2 separate regions of the Homo sapiens genome follow, and region 1 is linked to region 2. The links are contacts of gene promoters, found by promoter capture Hi-C in human tissues and cell types (Jung and others, 2019). All regions are on one chromosome and are shown on one strand. Each heading gives the region's core, a stretch centred on a gene start or on the middle of the fragment in contact. The rest is flanking DNA. Distances are from core to core; before and after follow the strand shown.

Region 1 (6,882 bases), core at 2,132-4,631, 210 kb before region 2:
AGCAAGACTCCATCTCAAAAAAAAAAAAAGAAAGGAAAAATGAATGATAAAGATTAGCAGGAAGAAAATAACAATTATCCATAACTGCAACAGTGATAAACACTTAATCTTTTGGTATATTTTCACCCCACACTCCAAAGAAACTTTGATTTGACTGCAATACACTAATAACTGTCAACACCTAATTCTTGAGGCAGGGCACCCTAACAGCATTTGTTACATGTATGTATGAAGACATTTCCTGACCAGATTTTTAAAGTGAACAGATTTCATACTAGCTACGTGGTTCATTTGTTTTTTGACATATACACAGATGTGCACCTTAGTTCTAAGCATCTTGGTATACCTTCAAAACCCATTTAAAAAAATACAATTCGTGCTCTCTTTCAGAAGCGTGCTTGTAACTGTACTGGCACTAGGGTAAAAGGAGAGCAGGAGTGTCTGGCTGCCTGTGTCCCTCACACAACAGGACCCACATTCACTGGGACATTTTAAACAACCATCACTTGCAGGAGAGTCCGCCAGTTCACCTTTCAGAGCATGAAAACGACTGGACTTCAAAGGCCAGAGTCTTTTCCTGATGGCCTCTAACTTTCCAGTCCTCCATTTCTCTCCCCAGCATACAACTTTCAAGGACAAGAAAATAGTAGAAGACACACTGCTTCTTTTTTTTTTTTTTTTTGAGACGGAGTTTTGCTCTTGTTGCCCAGGCTGGAGTGTAATTAATGGTGTGATCTTGGCTCACTGCAAGCTCTGCCTCCCAGGTTCAAGTGATTCTCCTGCCTCAGCCTCCTGAGTAGCTAGGATTACGGCACCCATCACCACACCTATTTTTTTGTATTTTTAGTATTTTGTATTTTTAGTAGAGACAGGGTTTCACCATGTTGGCCAGGCTGGTCTCCAACTCTGGACCTCAAGTGATCCACCGCCTCGGCCTCCCAAAGTGCAGGGATTACAGGCGTGAGCCACTGCACCCAGCTGACAACTTATTTTTAAATGCTAAAGTAAAAAGAAAAATTACCTGAACGGAAAATCCTGGTCAAAACTTCTATGCTATAGGACAGTTTTCCAAATTGGTCATTTAATATAATTACAGAACACATGTTAATATAGAGAATAAGAAGTGATTCTGGCTTACTCTTCTCCCCTTTTCTGACCCTAGTTTTTCTCTAATGAAAAGCTGCTTAGCAAGTTGTACTTATTTCCTAAAGCAAACACTCTAAAGAGAGTCTTCTTAAACTCACGCTGGTCTGTCCTCGAGGATGAGTGCGGTGGTGGAAAGTGGTTCAAAGTCAAGATTCTTCCTCACATTCTGCTTTGGAGAGGGTGGCTTGCTAGGTCTTCCAGCCTTGTCTTCATATTCCTAGGACAAAGAAACCAGGGATGACTCCAGGTCCTTTCAGATAGGATGAAGTCCTTCGGAAAGTAAGAAAGTTGTTTTGTCATGAAACTCTTTTAAGCCAATTTCGAGGACAATTCGCCAAAAACCTTTCCTGCTATTCAGAATGAAAAGCCGCTGACTAAAGGGGTCTTTCTGGAGATGGAGTCTCGCTCTGTCGCCCAGGCTGGAGTGCAATGACATGATCTTGGCTCACTGCAACCTCCACCTCCTCGGTTCAAGCGATTCTCCTGCCTAAGCCTCTCAAGTAGCTGGAAATAGAGGCACTCACCACCACGGCTGGCTAATTTTTTTATTTTTAGTAGAGATGGGGTTTCACCATGTTGGCCAGGCTGGTCTTGAACTCCTGACCTCAGGTGATCCACCCGCTTCAGCCTCCCAAAGTGCTGACATTACAGGCGTGAGCCACTGTGCCCAGCCTAAAGGGGTCTTAGAGTTCCAAAGCTGAGACCATTGCTTTATGATATGACTGCACGCTTCCCTCGTTGGTGGGGAAATAACAAAGGATCTCATTATCAAAGCAGCCCCTTTGAGGAGGGCCCTCAAACGCTGCCTCAGGTCTACTGTCTCCTGGGTAACAGGCATGTTTTCTCTCTTCTGGACACTGTAAATTTTAACTGATTATTATCACGGCCACTGGGAAGCTGCCACTGCAAATTGTTATGTAAATAGTTTTGCCATGCCCTGGAAATCTAAGAGCAGCCTCCACATCACTGGGTCACCGATTCACCCGTGCACTGCAACCACAAGAGCTCATTCACACCCGGTGACCCACATTCCAAACGCCCAGCTGGAAGAACTCAGGAGAGCCAAACAGGTTGGTGCTTCTGAAATAATGTGTAGGTACTTCGCTCTGTGCAAAATCAAAAAACACAATCATTTAAGATGATTATAGATAATTAAGGAAATATTACAGACAAGGCTCTCAGGAATGCCCCTGAAGGGAAGATAATCTCATTGAGAAGATAGGACAAAGAAGGTAGTGTTAACCTAAGATTTCATGTTTGTCATGAGGTGGTGAGAAATTGCTAAATGAATTTCAGGGAAACTAGCTGTCAAGAGGCGTGTTACTGGTGAAATTATGCGGCAAGCAATTATTCTCTTAGCCAGAAAGGCCTCTAAAAAGTATAAAGAAATAGATTATTTCCTCAAAATACACAGGCTATGAGAAGGACGTGCACCAAGAAGCAGTTGGGTGGGGCAGTTTCTGTACACCTGGATGTATATGGTCACATGTCTTAACACTGTTTACTGTGGCTTAACATGGTTTCATTACAATTCTAAAATTACTTCCACTTACCAAAAACTGAAAACACGGACTCATTCCTTGCTGGATTCAAGCATCTGAACATCTACACTGTATGGGGTACACAGCCGTGACCTAAGACGGCACTAGCCCTCATGAAGCTTCAAGTCTAGCACCTGAATGTCAAAGTCTCCAATTTCATAGGAAATCAAACAAAAGCTGTGTGTTGAGAAAGATTCTGAGGCATGCTGCATTTTAACAAGAATTAGTAACACATACCCCATGAGGTGCTACTTATCTGCTGAGCCTGGTCTGGTGAACTGTATGCCAAGGCCAGAATGCTGGGCCCAAAATCAGCCATGGCAGGATGTGGATGCCCATTTCCATCGGCTTTTGTGTGCTCTGTGCATGTGGACTCACTTTGTCTTCACAGCAATCTGCTTGGCAAGTGTTACCCATTTTAAAGACAGGGTAACTGAGGCTCAAAGTGAAGTGACTTGCCTGAAGCATACAGCCAGCAAGGCTGGGCCTGCCGCCCTGAGCCGGCCCAATATCATCTGTGAATACACTCAAACCCACAGGTGTGCAGTTTTAGAGGGGAAAGCCCGAGTCCTACACGGCTTAGGTGTGGCCTCTGCAGCCAGATAGCTCTGGGAGCAAATTCAGATCCACCAACCACCAGCTGTGACCTCGGGCAAGGTACTCACTTCAAATCCCTAAGCCTTCTTTCCACATCTGCAAAATGGGAAACCCCGCCTGCCTCACCCTGAGTGGGCTGCTGGAAGGAATGAGGTGATGTCACAGCCTCTGGTGCACAGGGAGTGCTGGAGAAGGGCAGCCCTTGTTGGTCTGCGCCACTAGCTTTCTCTCCCCTCAGACCTGAAACCACGGGAAAGGCAGAAAACCATGCTCTAGTGCCAAACAACAATCTAGGAGCCCTGCCAAGTTGCCAACAGCACAGATACAAAAAGTAGGAGTAAAAGGAAGTAAAAGCCTTGAGTCATGACCAGAAACATCAGATCGCTTCAGTCAGAGCTTCTTACTATTACCAACAGCAACAAACAGTGGCGGCGGCTGACGCTAACAAGCCCAGCACCTCTGAGTGCTTTACGCGTGCACACTGGGTTAACTCCATCTCCTCCACACCAGCCCCCCGAAGGGGCTGCTCCACCCTAGACCATGCTGGGTTAACTCCATTTCCTCCACACCAGCCCCCCGAAGGGGCTGCCCCATCCCAGACCACGCCAACAAGACAGCTGCACAAGGACACGCTGTACCTCACCAGCGCAAAGCTGTGGCTGTGGTCAGATGGCCCAACGAAGGTTCAAGAAAAAAAAGCAGGGATGCAGGCTACCTGAGGCAGGCATGGTTTCCTGCCTCTTCCAGTGGTTTCAGGTCTGAGGGGGAGAAAAAGCAAGTGCCACAGACCAACAAGGGCTGCTGTTTCTCCAGCACTCCCTGTGCACCAAACACACACGGGGACCCAGAGGTGTCCGTGACTTACCCGGCGGGCAAGTGGGGAAGCTGGGTCACAGGCCACGCGCTGGGGTTCCGCAGCCACACTCCTCATCACAGAATTCATGCAAGCCTCTGGCAGACATGCATCAGAAGTAATCCATCATTCAGATTCAGTCTCAGTAGTTTTCACAACCGTGACCGAAACCTCAAATACTGAACTAAGTGCACAGATCAGCAGAGACGCAGGGTCAAATGCTTGTTTTAATCACAGACCAAGGCATGATTAAAATAATAAAGTAACACAGGTGGCCTAGCCTGCTCATACTTGAAATCCCAGGCAAAGCCCTTTCCAAAACCTTAGGCACCCTTTCAGAAGAGAAATGGTGTTGGAAATGGTGACAGGTCCTGCTCTAGACCCGGTTCTCCCAGGGCAACCTGGAGGTGACAACAGTAAGCTCACTGTCCAGGCCAGACAAACCAACTTTAGAAAGAAGAAAGAGGACTGTTCACTCCCAGGATCCCGGAGGGAAGAAACAGCACTGGAGAAAGAACACTCAGTTGTGGATTATCAGCGCTAAGGTCGGGCTAGCAAGGGATAAGGCTCTGGAAGTAAAACCAGAGTTCTAGGTCCTGGCTTGGGTGAGTCGTCTTGTCTCTCAGTCTGTTCTCAGCTATAAAACAGTAGCAACTGTACAGACCACTGTGGCGGTCAAGAGATAAGATATGTAAAATGGCTGGGCACTCACTCCCTCAAGTGCCAAGCCCTTTCTGTGTGCCAGGCAAGTACTGGTGCGGTCCACTTCAGTCCAACTCATCATTCCCAAGTTCCATCTCTGCATGGGACCAAATTTTGAAGTCTCTTGGTTTAAACCAAGCATCGATGCCCGTCTTGCTGTGCTCGTCAAAATCCCTGCAGACTAACAGGTAAAATAAACTGCCCACTTAAGTGACAGCTGCCACCCTGGACAACCCTAAAGGGAATTTATTTATTTATTTTTGAGGAGTCTCGTTCTGTCACCCAGGCTGAAGTGCAGTGGTGCAACCTTGGCTCACTGCAACCTCTGCCTCCCGGGTTCAAGCGATTCTCCTGCCTCAGCCTCCCAAGTAGCTGGGATTACAAGCGCGTGCCACCAGGCCCAGCTAATTTTTGTATTTTTAGTAGAGACAGGGTTTTGCCATGTTGGCCAGGCTGGTCTGGAACTCCTGATCTCAAGTGATCCACCCACCTCAGCCTCCAAAGTGCTGGGATTACAGGCGTGAGCCACTGCACCCAGCCCCCAGAAGGAATTTAGAACAAGGTTCTTCAAAGTTCTAGCAGCAGATCAGTTTGATTGGTCACAACAGCATTTTTAAAAAAAACAAAACAATAAAACACAGTACATAAATACAATTTGCTTCAGCTTTACACTTAGTTATGTCAGTACAATGAGTCTCAATTTAAAGTGTCTAACTGGGGATAATTTCAAAAAAGTTTGCAGGCTGTCAGTTTAGAAGCACAGTTGTTCGAAGTCCCTGCTCTGGGCAGCTTATAAGGAATCACGCTGGGAAAGACGAGACCATACCAACATGGCAGCAGCACCTCACTAGCAGCCAACTTGTGGGGTGTGGTCTGATGACCCAGCTAAGGTTGAAGAAAAAAGGCAGGGAGGCAGGGTGCCTGAGCAGAGCCCCAGTCTCATGCAGAGGGCTCTGCATGAGACTCAGCATGCAGGGCAAGAGGGAAGGGGCCATGTGGAAAAGAGGAAACTAATTTGTGAAGGGACCACGCGGGCCTGGCAGTTTAGGAGATCCTCAATCTCCAACCCAGCAGGGCTCACTCGACAGGGGCAATACGATGCAGGCAGAGGCTCCCACACAGGTGAGACCGTGAGATGTGCCAGGAGGGGCGAGCCACACACTGTGGGAGGAAGGGCAGGATGCCTGAGGCCAGGGGGACATGGGAAGCTTTCACAAAGGGGCCAGCTGAGTGGACAGACAGGTAAGACGTGGGCTAGAGGCCAAGAGGAAGAGGCACTCTGACAGCAGAAGCAGTGGCCAAGAGACACCCACAAGCAGGCTAGCACCAGGATTTGAACCGGGAATGGTGCAGAGTCAAAGTTGTTTTGCTCTAGATTTGAAGGTCTCAACACGTTACCCAGAGGTGCTGGGACAAGCCCCAGGAGAGAGAGGAGAGCCAGAGGAGAGACTATGAGGTATGGGGAGCCCCTCAGACGCATCCAGGGGCAGGGTCTACATTCCACGTGTGATCTGCACAGTGCTAAAGACAAGAAGGGCACGAGGCTCCTGAATTAGGTTTAACGTTTGTTGGTTTAAAAAGCGGGGGAAAAGCCTGCTTCAATGCACATTTGTTTTAAGAGCGAAAAGAAAGGATCATGATTCTCAAACAATGAAGAAGTATTCCTAAGCCTGGCACAGAGGTGCTGTGCCTGTGGTCCCAACTACTCAAGAGGCTGAGACAAGGATCACTTGAGCCCAGGAGTTCAAGGTTGCAGTAAGCCATAACCGCACCAGGGCAACAGGACAAGACCCTGTCTCAAAAAAAAAAAAAAAAAAAAAAAGAAAGAAAGAAAGAAAGAAAAAAGAAAGTACTCCTGGTAGAAAGACAAGAAAGGTCATCAATGCTACTTATGAACTGGAGGAACACTACAAAACAGCCAATGATGTCAATAACCTGCTACTGGAAGCCCCCTGACTTCCAGGAAGGAGCCTCTGGCTCCCTGGAAATCTATTTTACCTAGAAGAGGAAAGGGTCATCAGTCAAATCCTGTGCTTAAATCTC
Region 2 (7,458 bases), core at 3,189-5,688:
TCTGTCGCCAGGCTGGAGTCCAGTGGTGTGATCTTGGTTCACTGCAACCTCCACCTCCCGGGTTCAAGAGATTCTACTGCCTCAGCCTCCCAAGTAGCTGGGACTATAGGCGTGCTCCACCATGCCCGGATAATTTTTGTATTTTTAGTAGAGATGGGGTTTCACCATGTTGGCCAGGATGGTCTCACTCTCTTGACCTCATGATCCGCCCGCCTCGGCCTCCCAAGGTGCTGGAATTACAGGCGTGAGCCACCGCGCCCGGCCAATACAAGGAATATTTTTAACCTTGTGCTCTGGTTCCCTCTGCCCAAAAAATGGGTCGGTGATTCACAGTCAGCAATGCAGGCACTTCATCTATTTCATTAGACCCTACAAGTTTAGATACAAATGGGAAAGATGACAGTTTTTACTTTGTATAAAATACCACTTATGTGATTATGTGAAAGACCAAAAATAACTGTAAAGAAATATTCTAAATAGTAACTATATTCAACATAGTAAAACTACATTTCTAATGTTGTTGTGGGCACCGATGTTTATTAAAAATACTTCATCTGGGTCTTGTGCGGTGGCTCATGCTTGTAATCCCAGCACTTTGGGAGGTTGAGGTGGGAGGATTGCTTGAGCCCAGGAGTTCGAGATCAGCCTGGGCAACACAGGGAGACCCGTTTCTACAAAAAAACAAATTGTTTTAATTAGCTGAGCATGGTGGTGCATGCCCGTGGTCCCAGCTACTCAGGAGGCTGAGGTGGGAGGATCACTTGAGCCTGGGAGGTTGAGGCTACAGTGAGCCACGATCACACCACCGCACTCCAAGCCTGGGTGACAAAGCAAGATGCTGTCTCAAAAACAAACAAACTTTATTTGCAGACTTAAGCCAGGGTCAGAAAAAATAAAAATAAATATACTTTATAATATTAACATACTCTTTAAGGTTGATTACAGACTTTGACTTTATTTAGCAAACATTTAAACACTTACATTTAACATTAAGCACTTATGTTTAAACGCCTGAGCAAGGTGTTGGGGGCAAAATGATAGGATAGACACCACAGCCAGAGTTTACTATGACCAATTTATAATACAACATGATATAGACAATAATGAAGGAAAAATAGAGAACTATGATTGAGGAAAGGAATAATTCATTGTAATAGGACTTCCAAAGGACTCCAGAGAGAACAGAATATTTGATATGAACTTTTAAGAACTGGAGGGAGTGGGAGTGAGACAGGACATTCCAATAAGAGAAAAGAATATAAGCAAAGAAGGTCTGAAATAGCTTGGCATGTTCAGAGAACCAAGAGCAGTCTTGTTTAGCTGGACAGTGTGGAAAGGGGACAAAGAGGACAAGATAAAGTACAGAGATGACTGGGGGCCAGACTGCAAGGGGCCTGCATTGTGATGCTGGTATCTCTGAATTCTAAGCTCCAAACCACAGGCAGTCTTAGAAGCCTACTGAGCCAGAGACTGACAAGATCTGAGCTCAGGAAAGATGACTCTGGCAGCCAGGCAAAGAATGGATAGGAAGGGGTGGCGAGGAGCCTGAAGACAAAGTTAAAAACTTTAAGCAAAGCAAGTAATCTGAGGTTTTAACACTTACACTAGGCGAGTATTTTTAAAGGGTTTGAGTCTTGACGACATTTCACGTCTTCCCTCAAGTGATCATCCCAACTATTCTGTGAAACAGGTGTCATCAATCTTCCCATTCTACAGATGAGGAAATTAGCTCACAAGCCATTAACTGCCAAGTCAAATGCTACAAAAACAAGGACAAAGCGCAGGCTCAGCACTTTTCCACACAATGAAAAATAAAGAACAAGAACAATCTAATTTCTTTTGAAGAGTGCTACCGTACAACATAGCACAGAGTAGGCTAGCTACATTACCCTATATTACCACTGGAAGTGTTAAAAATCCATCTAATCAGCCAGGCGCGGTGGCTCACGCCTGTAATCCCAGCACTTTGGGAGGCTGAGGCAGGCGGATCACGAGGTCAGGAGAGAAAGACCATCCTGGCTAACACGGTGAAGCCCCATCTCTACTAAAAATGCAAAAAATTAGCCGGGGGTGGTGGCATGCACCTGTAGTCCCAGCTACTCGGGAGGTTGAGGCAGGAGACTCGCTTGTACCCGGCGGGCGGAGGTTGCAGTGAGTGAGCCGAGATCGCGGACTCCAGCCTGGGCGGCAGAGCGAGACTCCGTCTCAAAAAAAAAAAAAAAAAAAATTCATCTGATCTTCTTAAATGTTTGCAACTTGCATAACAAGCTAATTATCCTTAGATTTGACTTCTGTTAACGTCATGTTAAAGACCTATACTTTTTCTCCAAAGCAAACAAAAAAGCACCTGCACTTTGAATTCTACTTCCTATGGAAATAAATAAGAATAATATTCTCCCTTCCCTTCAATGTTTAAAAACTGGCATTTCACTGATGTAACGGGCTTACATAAAAACCATTATACCCAAGGAAGCTGTAAACCACTTTTTGAATGATTAAAAATGCATTATTTAGCAAGTACAGCAATTGAATCTGAGTTATAAGATATATTAAGTGAAAGGAGCTTCTATAGATATGCAAAGGCACACTCTCGGAAATAGGTTCTGTCATAAGGAAGCGACATAGAGATCCTGAGACCTATTTAAGAATGGTTCAATCCAAAATAACTGATGGAAGAATATTTGACCTTGAGGATGCAGAGTGATAGAATCCGCTCCTCCTCCCCCCCCGCCCTCACCCGCCTTTAAATTCTAAGTCCACGAAATGGTCAAAGTGTTCTGGAACGGGTCTTATTTTGCATAGGAAGAATCTAGCTTGGGCATTTTACCGCACAGTTTTATCCACAGCATCGCCTATTACCAAAACTGCTTGTCCCTACCCCCTCACGAGCTTTCTAACAGTTTTTAAAACAAGACCCAGAAATGTAAAATCCCTTCTTAGGAACTTGAACAGTAAGTCAAAGTATCCAACCCAGGTAATTATTAGCAAGAACTACATTTATATAATTTTTTCCAAAGAATCTCGCATGCCTCCTCTCCGCTGAATCTCCCTCCTGTTTTTAACTGGGTTAAATCTTTATAGCTTGCCTATAGAGGACAAAAACGGAAAGGTGGCAAAAAAGAAATCAAGACAGTTCTGCCATGATTTAGGGGTCTGTACCAAGAGTTCGGCAGGTCCTGTCACCTGCGCACCACAAGACGCAAGCTGAATTCTAGGGCAAGACGAAGCATTCCAACACGACACACACTGGTTTCTCCAGCGGGAAGAAGCAGAGAGCTCTAGAAATGCCGGCTGCAGACGCGTATTGTTGGAAAGGAGCCGGATCAGGCCCCGCAGCAACTCGGGGCGCCCTCGCGACAGGGTTTGCCGCGCAGCGCACGGATGACTGTGGGCCTGTCACTCCTAGCTCCAGCTGTAACCTTCGCCAAACCTTGCGCCGCACCGGCCCCGCCCGCCAGGCCCGCCCCCCGCGCCGCGCCCCGCGCCATAGGCCGGCGCGCCAGTCGCTCAGCCGGCCTCCCGGCCCCGCCCGCCTGCGGCCCTCCTCCCCCGCCCGGCGGTTTTCCCTTCCCGGGGCCCCAAAAGGACAATGCTGGAGGGGAGGGGAACGGAGGGAACGCGAGCGAGCGGCCCAGGCTGCCGGCCTGACCCCGCTGCCGGGGACGCCGGGCGCCTCCCACCGGCCGAAGCCTTCCTCCCGCGCCCACTTTCGGGGCTCTACGTCCTATCAAGTCTAAGCACCCCCGCCTCGTCTCCCCTAGAAGAGCCGCCCCGGCGCGGCGACACCTGCCCCAGGCAGGAGGCAGCCAACGGCAACCCATTGTGCGGACTCATCGTCCACAGCCCACCCGGGCGCAAGAGCCGCAAGCTGGTGTCCCGGCGTCCTGGGGTCGGGGCGGGGGTCCCAGGGCCCACAGCTCACCCGCACGCCCGGGCACCACCAGGATCGGGGCCGGTCAGGCCTCCCTCGGCTGGCCCCGGAGCCATCAACAGCGGCCCGGTCTCCCTTAGGCTGGCCCCGGAGCCATCAGCGGCGGCCCGGCCTCCCTCAGGCTGGCCCCGGAGCCCCCGGCGGCGGCCCGGTCTCCCTCAGGCTGGCCCCGGAGCCCTCGGCGGCGGCTCGGCCTCCCTTAGGCTGGCCCCAGAGCCCACGGCGGCGGCCCTGTCTCCCTTGGGCTGACCCCGAAGCCTTCGGCTGCGGCCCGGCCTCCCTCGGGCTGGCCCCGGAGCCCCACGGCGGCGAGCGTCCGGCCTCCCCGGCCCGCGCCCACCCGGCCGAGGGGCTGCTCCGCGCCCTCCCTCCCCGCCGCCTGCCCGCAGTACCTGCCGAGGCTGCCGGGCGGCGCGGCGGCCGGCGGGGGCGCCTCTCCTCTGGCTCCGAGGGGCTGCGGGCGGCTGCCGAGCGCCGGGCGGCCCTGGCCTGCGCCTTACGTAAAGCGGCGGCGGCGGCCCCAGCGCCACTCCGCGGAGGGCGGGAGGCGGCGCGCCGGGAGCCGCTCCGCTCCGTTACCCGGCAACTGGCCTCAGCGCCCCGCCAACCAGGGGCGCGCTCCATATCCTTCCGCCCGGGTGCCGGGATTACATCAGCGCCGGCCGGTCCCCGCCCCTGCCCCTCCCTCCGGCTGGGCTGCGGGCGCGCGCGGGCGGTGGGCCGCGGGCTGACGGCGCGAGGGGACAGGCCGGGGCTGGTGCCTGGCGGGTGGGGGTCTAGGGCCCGGGACGCGCCGTGCAGCTTGGCCGGGGCGGCGGAAGCCGCTGGGAGGTGAGAGGGCAAGCAGTAGAGAGGGCAGGCAGGAAGCGGGAGCCCCCCAGCGTGCTGGGCGTCGGAGAGGAGACGTCTCCCGCGGAGGGGCACGTGGGACTGCCCTCGGCAGAAGCCCCCGAACTCTGCCGCCGCGCCCCGCCCCCGGCCCGCGCTGGGGAAGTGGGGCTCGGCGTGCACGGCCCCGCCCGCGGCCCGGTGCAGCCCCCGCCTTCCCGGGCTCGCGCGCCACCTGTCCGCGCCCCCTCCTCGCCGCGTCCTGGGATGGCTGGAGTAGGCGGCTTAAAATAAAGACTTTAATTTTTTGTTGTTGTTGTTAAGGAACCCAGAAGACAAGCTAAAGAAATGTGACATGGCTCTTTTTTTATTAACTAGGCAAAAATAAATTCTGGAAGCTTCGAAAGTGGAAACCAAAAATGTGCATTAACCTTTTAATCAAAGTGTCTTCACAGCCACCTACCTTCCCTAAATGTGACTCCTAGGCCTGTTCTAAAAAAGCAAATAAGTATCATGGACCTGGAAAAGGAAGGGAGATTACTTAGAAGAAAGAGGTCCAATGGGAGGAGTGACTTACCTGGGGTCATTTGTTCATTTATGCAGCACCCACTAGGTGCCAGGCACTATGCTTTTCTGTTCAGAACCTGTTGGAGAATTTCCTGCACCAGCTCACGGGCTTGTGGGAGAAGCAGATGCTGAAACACTGGAGAGGGGTCATCTGCTGAGTTGGCTAGATGCTCCATGCATCCATGGAAGGACAAACCGAGGAACTGTCGCTTACGTACTATCTACAGAGTGTTTTTTCTGCGAACATATCTTTTTGTTCTTTACAAAAATCGTGGGACAAATCTTTGTCATCCGCATTTAACTGGTGAGGAAGCTGAGGCTGAAAGAAAGTGATTTCACCCAAGCCTGGCTGCTACCGAGTGGACAGGGCCTTCTGACCTTGCTAAACCACCTCTTGCAGGAGACAGAATGTGAACCCAGGCTCCTGGCTCTGAAATATGGGGTTTCGTTTCCTTTACACTACTGTCTCCCTTAACCAGTTTGCTTCTAATTGTATTCTCTGAGCATTCGCTCAGGTGAATGTATATCGTCATAAATCACACGTTCATTCAGTCAGTTTCTTCTGAGTGCTTGTTGTGGACCTGGCTCAGTGCCGGGAACGCACAGTCCCTGTGCTCCTGGAACTCAAACTCTAAAAACAGTGTCGAGAATGGAAAGGGTATGGGAAATCCAGGGCCACTTGGGAGTAGAGGAGGGGAGAGTAGCAGAGCTTCAGAGCCTAGTTCACAGGTGCCTCCAGGCTCCAGGATTTCACAGACCAAAGTATGGGGGATTTGCAAAGGATGGTCAGCTTTTGATTTTTGCTACATTGGTGACATATCTGTCATCTACATCATATTTTACAAAAGAGTATTAACAGCAAAATTTTTTGAAAAGTAATAACAGTATATCTCAGTTCTGAAGAAAGGAAACACGGTTGGCACCTGTATAGTGACACACACACACACACACACACACACAGAGTTTATTGACCTTTTTTTTTATTACTTTGCCACAGACCAGTTTTTATACTAGTTCTACCATGAACTAGTAGAACCTGAAGACTTCTTGGAAGAAGAGGTTTTTAAGTAGGAATTATCTTGTATTAATAGGATTTGGAGCTGGTGGGGAAAGATGACAGATTAGGGAAAGAAAGTGTCTTGTTTACTTTGTTTTCTTAACAAAATAGCCTCCTGTCCTCCAAATTATTTTGATAAAAATCCTAGGAGTCTCAGCTGACTCCAACCTTAGGGCCTTTGCATCTGCTGATTTCTGTGAGGAACTCCCTCCCCAGACCTCTGCGTGGCTGGTTCCTTCTTGTTAAAGGCCCTGCTACGATGTCACCTGCCCAGAGACATCTAGATGCCCAGTTTGGAGTAGCCAACCTTCCCAGTCATGATGCCACTGCTATATTTTGTTTCTTTATTCACAGCTCTTATCAGTATCTGAGATCATCTCGTTTGTATGTTTGTTTCCTCATTCATCTCAGCCTCCTCACTCAAGACCTGTATCTCACAAGAGCAGGCATTTTGCCTGTGGTGCTTATTTTCATATGCCCAGAGCCCAGCACGGAGCCTGCCAGTTTGTAGGTGCAGGACTGAACTATCATCTGTGATGTAGTCAGAGTGCACATCAGGGAGAAAACAATCCCACCTTCCCTTGAGCAATCAGGAACAGGGCTCTTCTGCATGAGCCCCTTACCCCCTGTAGTGTGCCACGCTGCCTACGACCTTCCTTCAGGCTCCCGGGTAGAGATCAGCCAACTTAAACTCAGGAGAACAGTAGCTTTCTCCCTCTTGTGGGCTAAGATCCCTAGGGAATGCAAATGAGGCCAGAGGACTCCTGCGTTAAGGCAGGGTTGGTGTGGAGGCGGTAGACTCCCCCTTCAGCATTTTCTGAGAAGAAACCATTGTCTCCTGTGTATGTCTGAGATCATTCATTTCATTTCTCTAGTCTCAGGAGCACCTGCCACAGCTTTTTAACCCCTACAGCCGGGTAAGGCAATGCTGGAGGAAGCTGACGACTCTGAGTGCCCTCTGACTTGGATGTTCGATGCTAGCGAGGATTCTAGCAGCTGCCATCTGGGGCAGTGATTGTGTAATGTGTATGCTTAGTGAACAGCAGGGATGAGGCTGGGTCCGGGATGCTTTGTG

Evidence for each region. The method cuts DNA at HindIII sites, captures the fragments that hold promoters and counts their contacts. A contact is called where the count stands out against the background at its distance.
Region 1: a fragment that was not itself captured here is called in contact with the fragment with the promoter of KIAA0232 in region 2 in 1 of the 25 tissues and cell types used here (heart left ventricle).

Annotation. Positions count from the first base shown.
Region 1 is chr4:6,988,665-6,995,546 of GRCh38, reverse strand. It overlaps TBC1D14 (TBC1 domain family member 14), which reads right to left. Exons shown (of 14, transcript NM_020773.3): 4 at 1,245-1,363. Among named protein-coding and RNA genes, the nearest start is that of CFAP184, 51 kb to the left of the region's middle. The HindIII fragment of the contact is 7,304 bases long and covers 1-6,882 here.
Region 2 is chr4:6,779,707-6,787,164 of GRCh38, reverse strand. It overlaps KIAA0232, which reads right to left and starts at 4,438. Exons shown (of 10, transcript NM_014743.3): 1 at 4,324-4,438. RefSeq lists silencers at 3,349-4,118, 4,179-5,058. The HindIII fragment of the contact is 16,993 bases long and covers 1-7,458 here.